Regions from separate parts of the Homo sapiens genome. Here region 2 is linked to region 1. Evidence: promoter capture Hi-C in 16 types of primary human blood cells and fetal thymus (Javierre and others, 2016). All regions are on one chromosome and are shown on one strand. Each heading gives the region's core, a stretch centred on a gene start or on the middle of the fragment in contact. The rest is flanking DNA. Distances are from core to core; before and after follow the strand shown. Region 1 holds the start of ARMS2 (age-related maculopathy susceptibility 2). Region 2 overlaps BTBD16 (BTB domain containing 16).

The links. Contacts are between HindIII fragments. The CHiCAGO score rates a contact against its expected background, and 5 or more counts as called.
Region 2: a contact is called between a fragment that was not itself captured here and the fragment with the promoter of ARMS2 in region 1, in 6 of 17 cell types (non-activated CD4 T cells, activated CD4 T cells, total CD4 T cells and 3 more). The highest score is 7.2, in non-activated CD4 T cells.

What each region holds. Positions count from the first base shown.
Region 1 is chr10:122,451,139-122,456,262 of GRCh38, forward strand. It overlaps ARMS2 (age-related maculopathy susceptibility 2), which reads left to right and starts at 3,515. Exons shown (of 2, transcript NM_001099667.3): 1 at 3,515-3,886. The coding sequence starts at 3,590. The region is part of intron 2 of HTRA1-AS1 (HTRA1 and ARMS2 antisense RNA 1); the gene reads right to left. The HindIII fragment of the contact is 827 bases long and covers 3,348-4,174 here.
Region 2 is chr10:122,323,175-122,328,555 of GRCh38, forward strand. The region is part of intron 10 of BTBD16 (BTB domain containing 16); the gene reads left to right. Among named protein-coding and RNA genes, the nearest start is that of PLEKHA1, 49 kb to the right of the region's middle. The HindIII fragment of the contact is 6,579 bases long and covers 1-5,381 here.

The DNA.
Region 1 (5,124 bases), core at 2,265-4,764:
CACCCGACACAGACTGGCTGATTAAATAAGGGTTATGAGTTAGACAAATAAAATACCTGGTGCTGCTGAATTTCACATCTCTAAGGACATTACTCTGGCTCTAGACCAACTGGGTGGCTTAAACGTGGATCCAGATAGTGTCAGTACACAGAAATTACCTGTGTGTGGTTCTCAGCCCTGCTGCTCATTGGAGTCCCTGGGAGCTCTTCAAATTAGAGACGCTAGGGATGCTCAGTCCCTGCCCCCTCCCCCTGAGTTTTTAAAAATAGCTTTATTGCGATACAATTCAAATAAAATACAATCTACCCATTTAAAGTATACATTTCAGTGGTTTTTAGTATATTCATGGATATGGACAACCATCAACAGCACAGTCAATTTTTTTTTTTTCTTTGAGATGGAGTCGCCCAGGCTGGAGTGCAATGGTGTGATTTTGGCTCACTGCAACCTCTGCCTCCCTGGTTCAAGTGATTCTCCTGCCTCAGCCTCTCGAGTAGCTTGGATTACAGGTGTGTGCCACCACGCCCGGCTAATTTTTGTATTTTTGGTAGAGATGGGGTGTCACCATGTTGGCCAGGCTGGTCTCGAACTCCTGACCTCAAGTGATCTGCCTGGTTTGGCCTCCCAAAGTGCTGGGATTACAGGCTTGAGCTACCGAGTCCAGCCAACACAGTCAATTTTAAAACATTTTCCTTATCTCAAAAAGAAACCCCATACTCTTCAGCTATTCTTTTTATTTTCTATTAAATTTTTTTTTTTTCTTTTTTTTTGTTGAGATGGAATCTGGCTCTGTCACCCAGGCTGGAGTTCAGTGGCGCAATCTCGGCTCACTGCAACCTCTGCCTCGTGGGTTTAAGCAATTCTTTTGCCTCAGCCTCTGGAATTACAGGCACGCGCCACCATGCCCTGCTAATTTTTGTATTTTTAGTAGAGACAGGGTTCCACCATGTTGGCCAGGCTGATCTGGAACTCCTGACCTCAAGTGATCTGCCCGCCTCGGCCTCCCAAAGTGCTGGGATTACAGGTGTGAGCCACCGCACCTGGCCAACTATTTTAAAAAATTTTAAGAGACTGAGTCTCACTCTGTCACCCAGTCTGGTGCAGTGGCACGATCATGGCTTCAGCCTTAAAGTCCTGGGCTCAAGCAATCCTCCCACCTCAGCCCCCCGAGTAGCTGGGAATACAAGTGTGCACAGTCACACTAAACTAAAAAAAAAAAAAAAAACTAATTTTATTTTATTTTATTTTATTTTTTATTTATTTATTTTTTGTAGGGATGGGTTTTTGCTATGTTGCCTAGGCTGGTCTCAAAGTCCTGGCCTCAAGCAATCCTCCTGCTTCATCCTCCCAAAGTGCTGTGATTACAGGCATGAGCCACTGTTCCCAGCCTCTCCCCACTCTTCTAGCCCTAAGCAAGCACAAATCTATTTTCTGTATCTGTAGATTTTCCTGTTATACACATTTCTTATGAATGAAATCATATAATATGTTGTCTTTTGTATCTGGCTTCTTTCATTTAGCCCCATGCTTTCAGGGTTCACCATGTTGTAGTGGGTATTTTATTCTTTTTTATGGCTGAATAGTATTTCATTTTATGGATATGCCATAATTTATCTGTTATCAGTTGATGGACATTTGGGTTGTTTCTACCTTTGGGCTGTTATGAATAGTGCTGCTATGAACATGTGTGTTCCAGTTTCTGTATGGACACATGTTTTCCTTTCTCTTGGGTAGCTACCTAGGAATGGAAATGCTGGATCATATATTCACTCTGTTTGAAGAACTGCCAGACTGTTTTCCAAAGCAGCTATACCATTTTACAATCCCACTAGCAGTGCATGAGGATTCTGATTTCTCCACATCCTTGCTGATACTTGTTATCATCTGACTTTTTGATTCTGGCTACCTTAGTGCCTATGAAGTAGTATCTCAATGTGGTTTTGATTTGTTGATTTGCTGATGACTAGAGATGCCAAGCATCTTCTCATGTGTTTATTTGTGCTCTTAGAGTTTTTAATTCAGTTGGTCTGGAATAGTTTTTTTTTTCCTTTTATTTTTTATTTTTTTGAGACAGAGTCTTGCTCTGTCACCAAGCTGGAGTGCAGTGGCGTGATCTTGGCTCACTGCAACCTCTGACTCCCTGGTTCGGGCTATTCTCCTGCCTCAGCCTCCCGAGTAACTGGGATTACAGGCACGCACCACCATGCCCAGCTAATTTTTGTATTTTTAGTAGAGCCAGGATTCCACCATGTTAGCCATGATGGTCTCGATCTCCTGAGCTCGTGATCTGTCCACCTTGGCTTCCCAAAGTGGTGGGATGACAGGCGTGAGCCATGGCGCCCGGCTTTTTTTTTCCTTTTAAAAAAGTGTTTGGCTGGGAGAAGTGGTTCACACCTGTAATCCCAACACTTTGGGAGGCCGAGGCAGGAGGATCACTTGAGCCCAGGACTTCAAGACCTGCCTGGGCAACATAGTAAGACCCCATCTCCAAAAAAAAAAAAAAAAAGTAAATTAGCCAGGCGTGGTGCTGCACACCTGTGGTCCCAGCTACTTGGGAGGCTGAGGTGGGAGGATCACCTGAGCCGAGGAGTATGAGGCTGCAGTGAGCCATGATCATGCCACTGGATTCCAGCCTGGGTGACAAAGTGAGACCCTGTCTCAGAAAAAAAAAAAAAGGCTGGGGGGCCTGGGCTAGGATTATGCCTGTAATCCTAGCACTTTTGCAGGTAGATTGCTTGAGCTCGGAGTTCGATACCAGCCTGGCAACATGGCAAAACCTGGTCTCTACAAAAAACATAAAAAATAGCTGGGCGTGGTCTGTAGCTGTAGTCCCAGCTACTCAGGTGGCTGAGGTAGGAGGATCACCTTAGCCCGAGGATGTTGAGGCCACAATAAGCTGTGGTCATACCACTGCACACCAGCCTGGACAACAGAATGAGACCCCATCTCAAAAAAAAAAGTTTTTTATTTTGAAATAATTTTAGGTTTAGAGAAAAGTTGAAAAATAGTAAAACAACAACAACAACAAAAAAACAACAAAAAATCCCAAAACCCCCAAAACTCTCATTGACCCTTATCTCAGATTTCCCGAATGCTTACCACCCTCGCTACATCATTCAAGTTCTTGGAAACATTTAAAGCATGTGAAACATTTAAAACATTTAAGTTGGAGGCTTTAAGTTGCACGTCCTTTATTTCTAAATATTTCAGTGTGTTTTTCTTAAAAAAAATTTTCTCATACCACAGTAACATGATCAAAATTGGAAAATCAACATTGATTCAATACTATGATCTACAATCAAGGTTTTTTTTTTTTTTCAAATCCCTGGGTCTCTGCATTTTTTAAAAGCTTCACAGATGATTTCAATGGATACTAGGGACCTCTGTTGCCTCCTCTGGCAGAGCAGGACTGAGGGGTGGACCCTCCCTGAGACCACCCAACAATTCAGGGTGGAGTTATCAGGGCGCCCTGACTCCTGGGGGCATTTTTGTGTGACGGGAAAAGACAATGCTCCTGGCTGAGTGAGATGGCAGCTGGCTTGGCAAGGGGACAGCACCTTTGTCACCACATTATGTCCCTGTACCCTACATGCTGCGCCTATACCCAGGACCGATGGTAACTGAGGCGGAGGGGAAAGGAGGGCCTGAGATGGCAAGTCTGTCCTCCTCGGTGGTTCCTGTGTCCTTCATTTCCACTCTGCGAGAGTCTGTGCTGGACCCTGGAGTTGGTGGAGAAGGAGCCAGTGACAAGCAGAGGAGCAAACTGTCTTTATCACACTCCATGATCCCAGCTGCTAAAATCCACACTGAGCTCTGCTTACCAGCCTTCTTCTCTCCTGCTGGAACCCAGAGGAGGTTCCAGCAGCCTCAGCACCACCTGACACTGGTAAGAAATGCAGATGATCAGGCCTTACCCCAGACCTATTGAATCAGAAATTCTGGAGTGGTGCCCTGCAGCTTGCATTTTAACCAGCCTTCAGGTGCTTCTGATGCATGCTCAGGTTTGAGCACCACTGGCCACAGGGAGGCCTAGGCAATTCAGCCTTCCTCTGGTTGAATAGCTGGAGAATTGGGAATATCAGTAAATACTTCCAATGCACCTGCTACATGCCAGAAAAAGGAAACAAGAAGACGCAGTAGGTCTGAGAAAGTGATGGGGTGAGCAGAAACCCAAAGCTTATAGAAGGCCATCTGAGTGGCCCCTCAAGCCGGTGAATTGGCTTTAGGGTTTACTGAAGGAGGTGGAAACCTCAGCCTGCTTCTCGTCCGGGTTGTTAGAGGAGTCATTTAGAAAGCTGTACCATTCTTTCAATATTCTCACGGCTTTCCAGTGCTCATTTTTCCTGCTCATTTATGGATTAAAAAAAATGCCTTGGCTGTATGTGTAAGAAAACAACAATGCAAGTTTGTAGAGAAAGAATCTGGGCCTTACAGGTCACGTTGGTTTAAAATTTAGACATCAAGCAGCTTAGAGACCATGTTGCCAAATAAGCTTAGTAAATGCTTTCTAATGCTTACGGAACTGTGGCGCTTTGTGCTTGCCATAGTATATATAATTAGACAAATGAGAGAACACAAAGGTTGAACCCCTTCCCTCTCTTAATTTTTGTTTTTTACAAGCAGATTTAAAATTCTGGCTCATAATGTCCTTGATTCAATGTTAAACCATTTTGCCTAAATGGCAGCATGTTCTAAATGTGAGCGCGCTCAGCTTTTCAAGCTGCTCCCGAGTGACAGAAATTGACAAGCTGTCATTCAAGACCTTTCGGTGGCTGCCTGGGGCTCTGTTTGAATTGTATCTGTCTGATACTTTACCATGGAGAGTGAAAAATTTGATCACATGCCATGCTTTTAATTTTCTAAAGCAAATATGTTGGAAGGAGCCAATTAATGCAAAGATGGACTGCTGGTCTCATGCAACTGATTTAGGGGAAGGGTTCGCCTAAATTAATAAAAGATCTGAATTATAGATCTTAACAAATACATAGAATGTAAAGGCTTAAAAGGAAACTGAGCAGCAGCAGGCCTGGGGTTGGCTTTTAAGTATCTATATTTAACTAATAGACATGAATGTTTTGATTTGATATTAGAAATGCTAGTGCTGGAGTCTCTGAGCCTACTCTG
Region 2 (5,381 bases), core at 1,764-4,263, 130 kb before region 1:
GTGACTTTCTGGCCAGTTGTTTAGTGTTAAATGGAAACAAGTGTCATGTTTACAGAGTGATAGCTTGAAGTGCACAAAGCATGGGCTGGTTTCAGTCCTGCTGGGTATGGATTTGATCTTGATTTGCAACTTTCTCCCTCCAGCCTTAGGCATTACGGTGTGTGTGCTACATTTCAAGTGGAACAGTCTTCTCAGGGCCTAGGGATGACTCTCCAGTTGCTTTGTGTATGCTCAGGCTCAGCAGGAGATTGACAAGTAGCTTCTTGTTGCTTCTTATGTGTCCTTTTATGGTATGTGGGACAGGGCTGGATCTGAATGACTGCTAGAAGGGTGGAGAATTCAGTCCTCAATCAGGTGAAATTGGTCAGTATTATTAGAAGCAGAAAATGTCTTCCCACCTTCAAAAACCCTTCTGCAGGAGGATAGTGTAGAACTCTTCTTGTGATTATACTAATTGAAATGAGTGGCAGTTTGGGAGCTACAGGACAGCAAAATGCATTCAGTTCATGTCAGTTTGTAAATTACTCACTTTACTAAATCAAAGAAGGTCGATGCTGGAAAGTGCCTTAGAGATCATCTGGTCTCACCCTTTCATTTTGCAGTTGAATAAGCTAAGGCCCAGGGATAATGAGGAGGTTACTTAGGCTCCTTTTGCAAATTGATGGTGGTCCTGGGGTTGACCTTGGTCTTCTAGGTCTTCTGACACTCTTAGCTCTTAGGATCAAGGGCAAATCATAACAGACATGTAATTCTAATCCTTAGCTGATTTATAATCACTAAATAGGTATCTCTCAGACACTGAAGGGTAGATTCTGGCAATGAGCTTCCACCTCACCAGAGGGAAGTAATTTGAATGTAGCCAATGAAGCCAATTCCCATATGATCCCAACTTCTAGATTCCCCTGATTCTCCAGCTGAGTCTCTTCTTTCCTGTGCCCTACCCAAATCTGACCCAGCCTTTACAGAGCTTGACAAAGCCGGTTCCAGAAAGCCTTCTCTGATCTCACTTGTGCACTGGATGAATTCCTCCTCTTAGCTCCTCTTTGCGGAGAGAAAAAGAGCATGTGCTGGCTGCATGGGTGTGCACTGGTGAACCCAACAGCACCTTCCCCCACCCATTCCCCCCACATACTATTCCCAAGGGACCGCAGGGGGAAACTTTTAAGGAGAGCTTCCCTGCCATGCCCTGTACCATGGGTGCCCTGAGCCCACTGATTTCTTGAGGGCAATGTGCTATGATGCTGTGTCCCCAGGGTGGGCGAGGCCATGTGCCTCTTGTGATTCATGAATGGCATTTGCAGATGTAGCCAGAGTTAGCATGAAACTGGGCAACCCTGGTGTGTCAACACTGATCTCTTTACCAGCACATTAATTTTGAAATATCCCATGAGTCATGGACATTAGGGCCATTAAATTGTTCTCTTTTAGAATAGCTCAACAAAGCCTTGTGCAGGGAGGTTGGTATATTCTGGGTCAAGAGGATTTCTCATTATCTGACGTTCATGCTTCTTGCCTTGTTGTGTCTTCTCTTGCTCTGAGAGGTGATGACTCTGCTCCCCTTTAACTTGGATCTCTGGAACCTGAGTCTCTCTTGTTCTCAAGGTCCCTAAATATTATGCTTAGTTCTTACTAACTTTCCACTTCCGCCATGTTGCTTCTTGGCTTCCCAGGCATATTGAGAAGCACCAAAACATACCTTCAACAATAAGCATGGAGAAGTGGAAGGAGCACAAGAGTCTGGGTGTAGGAGTTTCTTAAAAAGGGCAGCTGTGGTTATGATTAGACAGGATTTCCCTTTGTGCTAGGGTCAGGACCATCTTGACAGACAGAAGGACATTGAACTTGGTCTCAGTGAAAAGCTGATAGGTCATGGTGACAGCAGACAGGACCACATGGGCATGGAGATAGTGGCATAGACTGGCCTGTATGTGCAGCAAGTGTGTGTGAGCATGTGCACCAGGGCTGGCCCTACTGGCCTAGAAGATAAGTTGTGGGTGAATGGAGGGATGGGATGATGGAAATGAGGCTGGAAAGTTGGCAGGGACCAGGTCATTCATCCAATTAATTCACCCAACATATTGCAAGTTAAGTGCCAGGCACTATAAAAGACACCAAGAGTACAACAATAAACAATGCAGACACAAACCCTGTCATCATGGAGCTTGCAATCTAGGAGCAGAGACAAGCAATAAATCAGATGTATGTTAGAAGAAGTCAGCCCCGAGTCTCAGCCCCACCTCTGCCATTCACTGCCTGTAGACTTTGGGCAAGCACCCTAAGCACCGTGCATGGAGGTAACAACACACACTCACCAGGACTGATGGGTAGGTCAGCCCTGACTCAAAGAAAAGGCCCAGGACAGCATGTGACAGGGGTTCTAAAATGTGGTGACCTTTGGTAGGTTATGATGTGGGGGTGGCAGCAGGAATTATTGTTTCATTTACCACACTTGAGTGTTAGGAGCCAAGAGGACCATTTCCTGGTTTTGTATATATAGATAGATAGATTTTTTTTTTTTTGAGATGGAGTCTCGCTGTGTTGCCCAGGCTGGAGTGCAGTAGCATGATCTTGGCTCACTGCAACTGCTGCCTCCCATGTTCAAGCAATGCTCCTGCCTCAGCCACCCGAGTAGCTGGGATTACAGGCACCCACCACCATGCCTGGCTAATTTTTGTATTTTTAGTAGAGATGGGGTTTTACCATATTGGCCAGGCTGGTCTCCAACTCCTGACCTCAGGTGATTCACCCACCTCGGCCTCCCAAAGTGCTGGGATTACAGGCGTGAGCCACTGTGGCTGGCCTCCATTTTCTGGTTCTTTGATTTCAGGAGTGTCCCAAGTCTTCTATGCTGAGTTATATTTTGAGAAAAAAAAAAAGCCATTTTCTCTTCTCATTGTGAGTTATTGCCCTAAAATGTGTATTTTTTTCAAACGTTGTCTTAAAATTTAATATGTTAGTTCAGGTGTTTCTCAAATAAGCAAAGTCACTTTTAACCCTAATGTCTTTTTTCAACTGGGGCAAAATATGCATAGCATGAATTTTTCCCATGTGAACCATTCTTACGTGTTCAGTTCAGTGGCGTTAAGTTTATTCGCATTGTTGTGCAGCCATCTCCAGAACTTTTCCATCTTCCCAAACTGAAACTCTACCCATGAAACAACTCCCATTCCCCTTCCCCAGCCCCTGGCAGCCACCGTTCTACTTTCTGTCTCTACGAATTTGATGACTCTAGGTACCTCATAGAGTAGAATCATCCAGCATTCACCCTTGCGCCTGGCTTACTGCTTCCAGGTTCATCATGCTGTAGCATATATGTATGTTAAGGCTAAAATCTGAAGTGCTTGGACTATCAGAGCTGTGGGCCTGATACTCGCAGGAAGGGTGGAAGGCTCCAGCAGATGACAGGGTAGAGGAAGTGAGAAAGTTGTGGCGAAGAGCACCTCTAAAATACAATATGTACCCATCAGAGGGAGACTTGTCCCCAGGTACTGTCTTTCCGAGTCTATGGGAGATTTGTCCCCAGGGTCTGGCAAGTAGGACCCAGGGCCAACCTGGATGTATCTTTCAGTAGCAAGGAACTGTGAACTGTCTTCCCTAGAGGGGTCATGCCCCAGGGTTTCTCAGTGAACTTTGGGAGGCATAGACCATCGCCTGAAGGTGTCTCAAAAAAATAAGTGCTAAACCAAAAGAGGTCTTTGCACAAACAGAGCGCAGTACCAGGGAAACCATGCCAGTCTTTGAGTCCACCAGTGTAGCCAAGCACTGTAGTCCCCAGACTTAGCAGCTGCTTGCTCCCTCCCATCTTACGTGACACCATGTGAATGTACTCACCACTGGACCAGAGAGGAGCAGGTGCCTCCGCTCCCAGACAGTTAAGTGGCGCCAAGTAAAATGGAAAATGTGCTGGACTAGCCCTGAGTGGCCTGTGTAGGACACTGGCTCTAAGACAGTGGACCTTGCTAGGCTCCCAGAGCCGGGTTATATTGATCAGTTCTGAGGGTGGACCACAACCCTTAGATCCTTTGAGATTTCAGGAAATCAGAAGCTGAGGACACCACTTTCTATCTTTGAGGTGGCCCATAACTTGGGTGATTTGGAGGGTGGCAATGATGATGAATACCACCAGGAACAATTGCCTGCATTTGATGCTGCTTGAGTCCATTCACTTTCCCTGGGGCGGGAGGACAATGGTGGTGCTTATAGATGTTGAGGACTCACTGGGAGCCAGCAGCTGGCCCAAGCCCTTCCCAAACACTGTCAGCTTTACTCCTCCCTTCTCCCCAAGGCACCACCTGTGGCTACTGCTCCCACTTGACAGAGGAGAGTGAAGCTCTGAGAGGCCCGGTCACAGGACTGTGGCTGGCTGGGCTGGGACGGGACCCTGGTCTGCCTGCCTCGGGGGTCCCAGCTTGGTTGGATGATGAGATGACTCATGGCCTCTCCATGTCATCCACAAAAGTGGGCATCATTGCCACTTCCCAGAGGCCCCAAGGGGTCATAAAGTCCAACAAGCTGTCTCAACAAAGCTGTTTCCAAATCCTCTGGGACAGGATGGCTGTCCAGAGAGGCCCTGGCTGAATGGCCTTCGAGTCTGAGTGCCTCTCAAAGGGAGGATCAGGGTCTCGGTTCCTCTTGCCCCTGCCAGCAGCCTTGCCATGCCAAGGCACATCAGCAGAACCGGCGTCTGGAGCTTCCTGGTGGAGGGCAATGCTTTCCTCCAGATGGGGCCTTTCCTTTCTGGAACTGAATCTGTATTTCAGCCACAGCTCCAGCCGGGGCCCACTGCTTAGGGCAGCACCCGGCTGTGGAGCGCTGGCCATAGGTGCTGGCTTGTCCCCAGAGCACTGGGCAAGGCTAGGGAGGACGGCGTCAGCTTGGCCCCTTCTTGCCCCTTGGAACCTGCTGCCCAGCCATGATGACGCCTCAGCTGTTCCTCCATGACATGATGAAAAATAGGCAGAAGAAGGAGGAGGCTCAGATCATCTGAGGAAAGGAAGTGAGCGAGTGTTATTTGTCCCACGAAGATGTCAGTGTTTTCAGGGCACAGGCACCGCACCCACCAGCCCCGGCTCCACTTACCCTCGGTAATGGAGGGCTGGTTCCAGAACCAATAGTTCTGCACTCCTGAAAGCATCCGCCTGACCTTATTTATGGCTGCTCTGTCCACCTCCAGAGACAGGCACAGGGTAGATACTGGTAAATAACCCTTGAATTGAATCAGAACTCACTTGTCTTTGTGCCTACAACTTTTCTGCACCTCTAGGCCTATCTTCTGGGATCACTGGCGTGGAGCAGTTGGGCGGTCCCAGGAATTCCCAGATCTTATGAAAATAAACGGTTCCGGGAAAGCTGGCGGGCATCTCTGACAGAAGGGACCACAG